3 separate regions of the Homo sapiens genome follow, and all the other regions are linked to region 2. Evidence: promoter capture Hi-C in 16 types of primary human blood cells and fetal thymus (Javierre and others, 2016). All regions are on one chromosome and are shown on one strand. Each heading gives the region's core, a stretch centred on a gene start or on the middle of the fragment in contact. The rest is flanking DNA. Distances are from core to core; before and after follow the strand shown. Region 1 overlaps XK (X-linked Kx blood group antigen, Kell and VPS13A binding protein). Region 2 holds the start of DYNLT3 (dynein light chain Tctex-type 3). Region 3 has its middle 2.3 kb from the start of CYBB.

What was found. The method cuts DNA at HindIII sites, captures the fragments that hold promoters and counts their contacts. A CHiCAGO score of 5 or more calls a contact.
Region 1: a contact is called between a fragment that was not itself captured here and the fragment with the promoter of DYNLT3 in region 2, in 1 of 17 cell types (total B cells). The highest score is 5.2, in total B cells.
Region 3: a fragment that was not itself captured here is called in contact with the fragment with the promoter of DYNLT3 in region 2 in 1 of 17 cell types (activated CD4 T cells); the score reaches 5.0 in activated CD4 T cells.

The regions. Positions count from the first base shown.
Region 1 is chrX:37,729,233-37,732,301 of GRCh38, forward strand. XK (X-linked Kx blood group antigen, Kell and VPS13A binding protein) reads left to right here. Exons shown (of 3, transcript NM_021083.4): 3 at 1-2,898. Among named protein-coding and RNA genes, the nearest start is that of XK, 45 kb to the left of the region's middle. The HindIII fragment of the contact is 203 bases long and covers 1,316-1,518 here.
Region 2 is chrX:37,846,026-37,849,382 of GRCh38, forward strand. DYNLT3 (dynein light chain Tctex-type 3) reads right to left here and starts at 1,546. Exons shown (of 5, transcript NM_006520.3): 1 at 1,456-1,546; 2 at 292-333. The coding sequence starts at 1,485. RefSeq lists a silencer at 1,210-1,319. The HindIII fragment of the contact is 5,769 bases long and covers 261-3,357 here.
Region 3 is chrX:37,776,189-37,779,389 of GRCh38, forward strand. No RefSeq gene overlaps it. Among named protein-coding and RNA genes, the nearest start is that of CYBB, 2.3 kb to the right of the region's middle. The HindIII fragment of the contact is 1,220 bases long and covers 1,054-2,273 here.

The DNA.
Region 1 (3,069 bases), core at 167-2,666, 120 kb before region 2:
AGTAGAATTCTTACCATCTTACTCCTGCCTCCCCATTCCTTGCCTGTCAGGACCATTTTAGAAGAGTTACCTTGGTTAACTTAAGGGTTTTTTAGAAAACCCCACAGAAATCTCTCACCCAGTTCAGGTGTATAGGGAATTTTCATTTTCATTATTTCAAGGAATAGAGTTTTCCTCACTACCACTTGTAATTAGAGATTGACTTCAGAAACTTTTTCTAAATTATAAAGACGGAATGACCAGAAAATTTTTGTCTTTCATGGAATGCAATTTGACTTGGCATAATTGTGAGTTAATTTGATAAAGATCTCCAGTTGTATCCTCTGACACCCTTTAATGTTCTATATAATTTTTCCTTTAATCGGAGACCCTATTTGTTTCATTAAAGAGGATTGGGTAGCATATCCTCAATTATCTTGGAAAAATGCGTAGATCTAGTGCCATTATTTCTACCATTAAAATCTTGAAAGCGAAATACTTGAAAAGAGGTGACCATAAAGATCACACCAATTTAGAATGAATATTAAAGTCTGAGAAATTTACAAAAGGGACTCTATGGACTCGATTTTACCATATGGAATAGGGATCCACTTCTCTGTTAACCTACAAAACGTATTTATCTGGCCATTGCACTTCGGATAATTTTCATTTTTAATTCCTCTTGGTGTCAAATTTTTAAGTAATTTCATGCACACAGGAGAAAATGCAATTTGATAATCAGTTTCCACTACATTCGGAGGTCAAGAAAGCAGTATATATTCTTTCACAAGGCATCCATACTGTTTAATATTTATAGAGTTCATAGAAATACATCAATAAGCTCCTAAATTATAGAGCCTCAATTTTGGTTTTTCTCATTTGAAATGTTTTTGATTTATCAATATTTGTGGTTTAACTTTGTGGGGGTGTCCAGGCAGTAGATCATTTTTTGTCTATTTTTAACCAAATAAGAATAACACTCAAGACTATGTTCTCCATCCCAACACATCACTTACCACTTGCACTATTCTTAATAGGCCTAAAATAGTGAGCATATATAATCAAAATAATACTTCATACAACATATACTTCCATGCACTCTTCATGTAATCACATATGTGCATAGATACACAATCGTATTACATAAAACACCCTTGAAAATATATGACTTTGAATAAAATAAAGCTACCATGTTAATACATCATTTTTTGTTTCTTCCTAATTAACAAAAGGGCTCTATAATGATTAGGAGAGCTGTAAGGCCATTCTTTAGTCATTCCAAGTGTATATTTGTATCACACCAGTTACTTGTGTTCATTGACACCAAATATTTTCAAGCTTTTTGTGAGAAAGAGATTCTTGCCTTGAGGCTCTGCAGTGGCAAATGGTAGGGGCAATAGCGCTCCCTTTTCACCTGAAATGCCTTCAGCTCAGGCCTTGGGAGTGAGGTGTGGGAGTAGCCACCAGCCTCCCACTGACTAGGCATGTTAGGAATTAGACAAGGATGGAGAGACTGGTTTTTTCCAGCCTTGGTTTGGAAGCTTGTCTCAAAAACCATTACAAAATCTTAACCTTCAAATACATTCTAAATCACTTTAATTTAGAAGATAGGTGAGCAACTTGAGTGATCCCAAACCAAACTAACAGTGCTGGTTTGTCCGACACCCAAAGCCCACTTCACACATTTATAAGGACAGAGATTTGGTAACTCATTTGGGTATTTTGTCAGTTTTAACCCTTAATATACAGGTATCCCAGCTTTGGGCACATGTATGTCCATTCACTTTCAGGAAGGGGTGTCAGTACTTTCTTTCTGTGTGGTGAAAACATAAGCCATGGTGAACTGATAATTTTTGTTTTTAAATTATTTATATTACTGAATTGGCAAAATTACAGTTCACACTGCAGAGCTAGGTTGTCCTATTGGCATAAAACAAACCAGCAACTTTTCTCATGTGTTTGGAGTTAAAATGTGTTTTTCAGTTATAATTTCAATTTTTAAATTTCTTGGTGCTTTGTCTAATTAATTACATCCCATAACTTGTCAGGATAGTTGCTCCAACTGAATTGCTATCATTTGGCTGGATGGGGGTGAAGTATGTCTTCAAAATATATTGAAGTAAGTTCATCAAACATGTTTAGACTTCCTCTCATTGCTGGAGACAGCCCAGTGTAGAGATTGGCACTTCCCTGTCCAGCACTACAACTTAATTGCTCTATGCCTCAGTTTCCCCATAATACCCTTTTCCAACCTACCTCACAAGGTTATCAGAAAGATCAAATTAAATAATAGATGTGAAAATGCTTTGAAAATGTTTTTAAGTGCTATGCATATTTATAGAGTTATTATAGTTATTCAAATCCATAAGCAGGTTATTTTTATTTTTTTACTGTTTGAAAAGAAATAAGTAGTGTCATTCATATGAGTTCCTGAGTGGATATGCGAATCTTTGGTCTTCTCGACAGGTGCCCTTTCTCTTACCACTAGTTGCTTACAAAAATAGCACCCAAACACATGGCACTTGGAAGAAAAAGACCCACTGAATCTGAGAAAGTACTTTCTGGTGGCAAATGAATTTATCATTTTAGTATAGTTTTCGATAAAGGATATAGCAACATCTTTTGATAATTGTGCTTTACAACTTGAATGCTGATTCAAGGCATTATTTGGATGTGAGTTTAATCTTTTCAGCCTTGTAAATGGGAAAATATATATTAAAATTGATTGTCAAATACAGCATTTCTTTGGAAACCACCTTAAAACATTAGTGCTATGGTTATGAGTGTATGTGCCAGTACTTACCAGTCAATGCATTGTGGATATGAGCTTTCGTTGACTGCTTCTCTGCAGTCGTTGATGCTAATAAATATTGTCCTGTTTCTTCATATAATAAATTAATTTTTCAATTTCTCCTTGTATTTCATTCTTTATACAATTCTTACATGGCCTTTTTACTTCAGGGACTATTTTTAAAACAGAAATTTTAAAATTGTTTCATTGTAACTGATTATAGTTTTATAAACTCACCTGGAAATTACTTCTGTAGGCTGAGAAATTTGAGAGTGCTAAGATTCAGCCTTGCAGAACAA
Region 2 (3,357 bases), core at 296-2,795:
ATGGGTGTGGTGGCGGGCGCCTGTAGACCCAGCTACTCGGGAGGCTGAGACAGGAGAATTGCTTGAACCCAGGAGGTGGAGGTTGCAGTGAGCTGAGATCACACCACTGTTCTCCAGCATGGGTGACAGAGCGAGACTCCATCTCAAAAAACAATAAAATAAAATAAAACAAAACAAAATATTCTTCTTTTAACAGTAAGGTTTCTAAGTTTGTGCTGAAACTCAAAATATAGCTTTTAAAAATCTCCACCAGTGCAGCAAGCTTCAAGAGAAACAAAATGTATGACTCACCTCTTTGACAATATTGTGGGCTTCCTCAGCATTGAAGCCAACCTAAAGGGAAAACAAAAGGTAAAGCTGCTTTCAACACAGGCTTACAAGTATGACGCTACACAGAATATCCTAGGCTGGCCTAGACAGGTGTTAAAGTGTTAAAGGGCATCAGGTCTACAGAAGGGGCCAATCTTGCCCCTAAACACTTAAAAATACTGAATGCTTTCCCTACCTACCTCCCGTGAGGTCTGGGGCAGAGCCTGCAAGTCTACATTTTTTTTTAAAAAAGTGCTTTATACTGGTGATTCTAATGAACATCCTAGATTAAGAATCATTGTATTGTAAAACGTAGGAAATAAGCAAGAGGTGACTATGAGGATGTTATGTGTCATAAGAATATAGAAATGGTTTCAGCTAAGTGAGAGAATGAAGTGGTCCATATGAAGAGAATGCTTAGTAGACTATTTTCAATTTTGTTTTTAACTTATGCTAGGCAAAAATTTCTAGGCAAAAATTCCTTTCCCAAATTAAAGATTATGAAAATACTTGATAACTCAAGATTAATATCACTTTAGTACTATAAAGTGGTCTGACAACTTAGTCTTTTCTTTGGAGTCCCCATCAATAACAGGGAGATAACAACTGACATCATGGGTTTCTGGTGAGGGTTGGGAAAGCCTGAGTCAGTAAGCAAGGGCTCGTAATCCATAAAGCACCTCCTTGCCTAATCCTGGCAAGCATTACCGGGAGCGGGAATGGCAGTGCCACCAGGACCCCGAGACTCCGAGCCATGGGGGCTGCAGCACCCGCGCTGAGGAAGCCAAGGGACGGAGGCAGCAGCGGGAAGACCCGTTTTCGAGGCCCGCCCGGTAGGAGGGCGGCGCCCGTCACCCCATGCCCACTCCTCGCACCCAAGTCAGGCCTCGTCCTCCCAACCCTGCCCCGACCCCACCGTCTGATCCGCGCGCTCCTGGCCACCCCTCCCACCCCGAATCTCAGGACTTTGGGGTGGGGAGAACGGGTCGGGCGGGGCGGATCCCGGGCCCAGGGGAGAGGACCCGGGCTCGGAGGACGCCGCACCCCAACTCTTGGGACCGCCCTCGCTGGGAGACCACCCGGCAAGAGCCCCGCGCAGAGGAAGGCGGGAGTGGGGGGCGCTCCCAGGTAGCCAAGGGGCGGTACCTCGTCGCAGTGGCGATGGTACTCCTCCATGGTAGCGCCGGCTCTCCCTGGGGCGGAGCGACACGCCGGTAGAGCACCGCGGCCGCGCACTGGCCTCCGGGGAGGCCCCACCCCCGTTTATGGCCTAGGGCCTTTCCCTACGCAATCCCCGCCTTTGTGTCGCAGTGGCGTCACCTGGCAGCGCTGGGCGGGCTTCGGGCAACGCCAGGCGTCACTTCAGGCCACGCACTTTTTCCTCGCTTCCTCTGCCCTTTCTGGAAACAAGGGATGAATGTAAAGAACTGGGAATGGCGCCAGTGTGGATCAGATGGGGTGACCTAGTGGCAGTTAGTCTAGACTCCGCACTAGTGGTTGAGTGCCCACTGCTGTGATTACTTGCACGTATTTGTTCATTCACCATCATGTGGCACATAAATGTAGTTAATTTCGTGGTAAACCAGCCACTTTGATTTGTCCACTTACTAGCTATGTTACTTGGAAAAATTCACCTCCCACAGCTTCAGTTTTCTCATATGGAAACTTACCATCATACCTATTTCACTACTGGTTGTAAGGATCTGATGAGAAGCTGTATACACGGCTCCTAAAGTAGATGCTTCTCAACAAGAGAACAATGACTACATTTTAAAATAAATGTAGTAATTTTAAATTAGTAATTTTAAAATAAATGTAGTAATTTTAAATTAGTAATTTTAAAATAAATTACTAATTTCCAGATGATCCTAGACACTTCCTCAAAACCTCACAATAAGTCAGAGGAGTTAGTTCTTCCATCACTGCTTTTATCAAGATGAAACTGAGGTATAGAGAATTTAATTTGCCCAAGGTCATACAGCCAGTAGGGTGTAGAAAAGGGACTTGAGCTCAAGTAGTCTGATAGCAGAGCCCAAGCTCTTAACCACTGTATTACTTTCCTATTGCTACTGTAACAAATTACCGTAAATGTAGTGCCTTAAAGAAACACAGTCCTGTTCTCTTACAGTTCTGTTACCAGTGTAGGGTGTCCAGGTTCTTGGCTCTTTGAACAAAGAATTGGACAAAACGCACAAACAAAGCAAGGAAAGAATGAAGCAACAAAAGCAGAGATTTATTGAAAACGAAAGTACACTCTACAGGGTGGGAGCGGGCAGAGAAGCCGCTCAAGGGCCGGGATCCAGAATCTTCTCTGGTCCAAATACCCCCTAGAGATTTCCCATTGGCCACTTGGTGTGCACCCCATGTAAATGAAGTAGTGGCCCACAATCAGAGGCTGAAGTTACAAAGGCCACACTCCTATGCAAACGTCTGATTGGTTGCAAGAAAGCAACCATCAGAGGCTAAAGTGAAGTTACAAAGTTGCACTTCTATTCAAACAAAGATTTGGCCCATAATCAGTTTGATTGGTTGCAGACAGCAACCAATCAGAGGCTGAAGTGAAGTTACAAAGTTCCACTCCTGTGCAAATGTCTGATTGGTTGCTTTTTGCTCTTTGGTTGCAAAAAGCAACCAATCAGAGGTACTTTAAATTTCCCATCTGCCCTGCAGAAAAGGTGGGGATTTGCAAAGGGAATAGCCTCTGGTCCTTTTGTTACTTAGGCATGGAAGGTATGGAAGGTTAGGGTTTTCCTTTTTTTTTTTTTTTTGAGACGGAGTTTCACTCTTGCTGCCCAGGCCGGAGTGCAATGGCGCGATCTCGGCTCACCCACGGCAACCTCCGCCTCTCGGGTTCAAGCGATTCTCCTGCCTCAGCCTTCTGAGTAGCTGAGATTACAGGCATGCACCACCACGCCCAGCTAATTTTGTATTTTTAGTAGAGACGGGGTTTCTCCATGTTGGTCAGGTTGGTTTCGAACTCCCGACTTCATCGACCTCAAGTGATCTGCCTGCCTCAGCCTCCCAAAGTGCTGGGATTACAGGCGTGAG
Region 3 (3,201 bases), core at 414-2,913, 70 kb before region 2:
GGGAATGTTATTTCCTGGTATATGCAGATTAATGATCCCTTTGTCATTGCCTCCCCAGCAGAGCACAGGCTTCAGGAGGCAGGTGGAAAAGTATGAGAAAGGCTTGAAAATTTAAGTGGGATAAAGGAAGATGATCCAATAGGCAGAGAAAGAGAACAGTGGGGATAAGTACAGAGGAAAAGACTGATGAGTTCCAAGAGCTTATGGTGAAGCAGTCATCTTTGTAGAGGAGTTTGAGAGTGGCAGAGATGAGGAGAGAAAGTGGATTTTTAAATATGTTTTATTTTTCTTTGGGTATAAAGGCCTCACTTCTTTGAATACATGAAAAAAATAAGTACAGATATGAGTAACTTTTTTGTTTCAGTCAAAAAACAGAAACCACTGTATTTCAACAGGGGGAATTTCATACCAGGAAATTTGTTACATGGATTATGGAAAAGTAGAGAATCCCAACATGGGGTGCAGAGGCAACATAATATAAAGATGAACAACTACAGGAAGTGGTTACCACCCTAGGGGTTAGAGGGAAACTAGGAGGTGGTGGTGTAACTTGAGTTCAGAAGCCAGGGCCACCTGGCAGAATCTTGAGCTACAGTGGTGATGGCTAGGACTAGCTCATGCCACAGGGGGAGAGGCTGACTGGTGAAAGTTGGAGCCTCAGTGCAGATGCAGCCCCTTCATGGATGCCACTTAAAGCAGAAAGCTCAGGGAAGAAACACTATGGCTTATCTCCTGCTATCCATTCTCCAATTCAGCTAAACATACTAGAAGCCAGAGGGCCAAGGAGCCTGGCAATACAATTTTCTCTGAAACACAGTAGAGCAAGGAAAGTGGGGAATAGACCTGAGAGCAAGAGGCAAATAATTGGCACATGTTTTAATTGTCTAAGTGTGTTTCTTTGAATTCATCTCTGTGTGGAACAGAACCACGAGACTAACTTCTCTTTATGTGGTTTACACATGGTCTAAGAGCCATAGCATTCTAAAAAGTACCTTTCCTTGAATATTAAGAAGTGAAAAACACTACTACTTTGCTAATTATCGTAATTACAGAAGCTTCCCAAGTAGTTCATGGACAACAATCAAAAGAGTACTTATGTCTTTTTTTTCCTTCTTTTGTTCCCTTTCACTCCTCCCATTTCTTTTTTTTTTACCTCCATATTAGCTATAACTGCTGTACAACTACCCTTGTGCAATTAGTCAATATTGATCTCATAATGGGGTTACTATCCTACCTTCCTGTCTCTTTCATGTCTTGAAGAGTGGGTACCAACAAGGGAAATGATGCTACATTTAGCTTTTGGCATCTACCATATCTGACATATCTTTGTGCTGACCCTGTTTACTCACTTAGCATATAGGATGTCATGTTTGCCTGGAAACATGATTGCCATCTAAACATTTTGGTATATTTCTTGTATTTTGTCATGTTTTCCTATAGTTGTATGTGGAGTGATTTAATGTAGGGTTTTTAGTGTAGGCATAGTAAGGCTTTTTTCTAGTATCTTGGTCAAAAGTATAACCAAATTTCTTGGGTTTTAAATCCCAACTCTACTATTTGCTAGTTATGTGAACTTGGCCAAGTAACTGAACTGCTCTGGAACTCAGTTTCCTTATCTGTAAATATAATCATAATAATAGAATCTGCTTTACAGTGGTTGAGTTGTGAGGATCAAATGAATTGATGTGTGTGTGTTTGCATGTGTGTCTATATGTGTAATACACACATATATGCAGTCATATCACTTAACTATGGGGGATTTGTTCTGAGAAATGTATCCTTAGGTGATTTTGTTGTTGTGTGAAAATCATAGAGTGTATTTACATAAACCTGATGGTATAGTCTACTACACGCCTAGGCTACATGGTATAGCCTATGGCTGCTAGGCTACAAACCTTATCGTTTTTTATTGTACTGAATACTGTCAGAGATTCTAACACAATGGTATCTAACCATAGTTAACCATAGAAAATAGACAATAAAAATAAAGTATAAAAGATTAAAAATGGTACACCTGTATAAGGCACTTACCATGAGTAGAGCTTGGAGAACTAGAAGTTACTCTATGTGTCAGTGAGTGAGTGGTGAATGGATAGGAAGGCCTAGAACATTTTTGTACACTCCTATAGATTTTATGAACACTGTACACTTAGGCTATACTAAATATGCAAAACATTTTGTTTTTTCAATAATGAAATAAATTTAGCTTACTGTAACTTTTTATTTATAAACTTTTGCTTTTTTAATTTCTTGACTCTTTTGTAATAACCCTAAGCTTAAAACAAAAAAAATTTTACAGCTGTACAAAAATGTTTTAATATCCATATCTAGAAGCTTTATTCTGTTTTTAAATTTTTTATTTTTATATTTTACCTTTAAAACATTTTTGTTAAAAGCTAAGACACAAACATACACATTAGCCTAGGCCCACACAAAGTCAGGATCATTAATATCACTGTCTTCCACCTCCACATTTTGCCCCACTGGACAGTCTTCAAGGGCACTAACATGCATGAAGCTGTCATCTATGACAGCAATGCATTCTTCTGGAATACCTTCTGAAGGACCTGCCTGAGATTCTTTTACAGTTAACTTTTTTATAAGTAGGAGTATACTCTAAAATAATGATTAAAAGTATAGTCTAGTAAATAAATGAACCAGTAACATAGTCATCTATTTTTACTATCAAGTACTATGTAATGTACATAATTGTATGTGCTATACTTTTACAACTGGCAGCTCAGTAGGTTTGTTTACACCAGCATTGCCACAAACACATGAGTAATGTGTTATGCTACAATGTCACTAGATGGTAGGAATTTTTCAGCACACACACACAAGTATATATATTATATATTATATTATATATTATATATATATGTATATATATATATATATATATAGAGAGAGAGAGAGAGAGAGAGAGAGAGAGAGATGGAGTCTTGCTCTGTCGCCCAGGCTGGGGTGCAATGACACAATCTCGGCTCACTGCAACCTGACTCCCAGGTTCAAGTGATTCTCCTGCCTCAGCCTCCTGAGTAGCTGGGACTACAGGTGCCCACCACCATGCCCAGCTAATTTTTGTATTTTTAGTAGAGACGGGGTTTCACCATGTTGGCCAGATTGGTCCCAAACTCCTGACCTCAAGTGATCCACCCCACTCAGCCTCTCAAAGTGCTGGGATTACAGGCGTGAGCCACC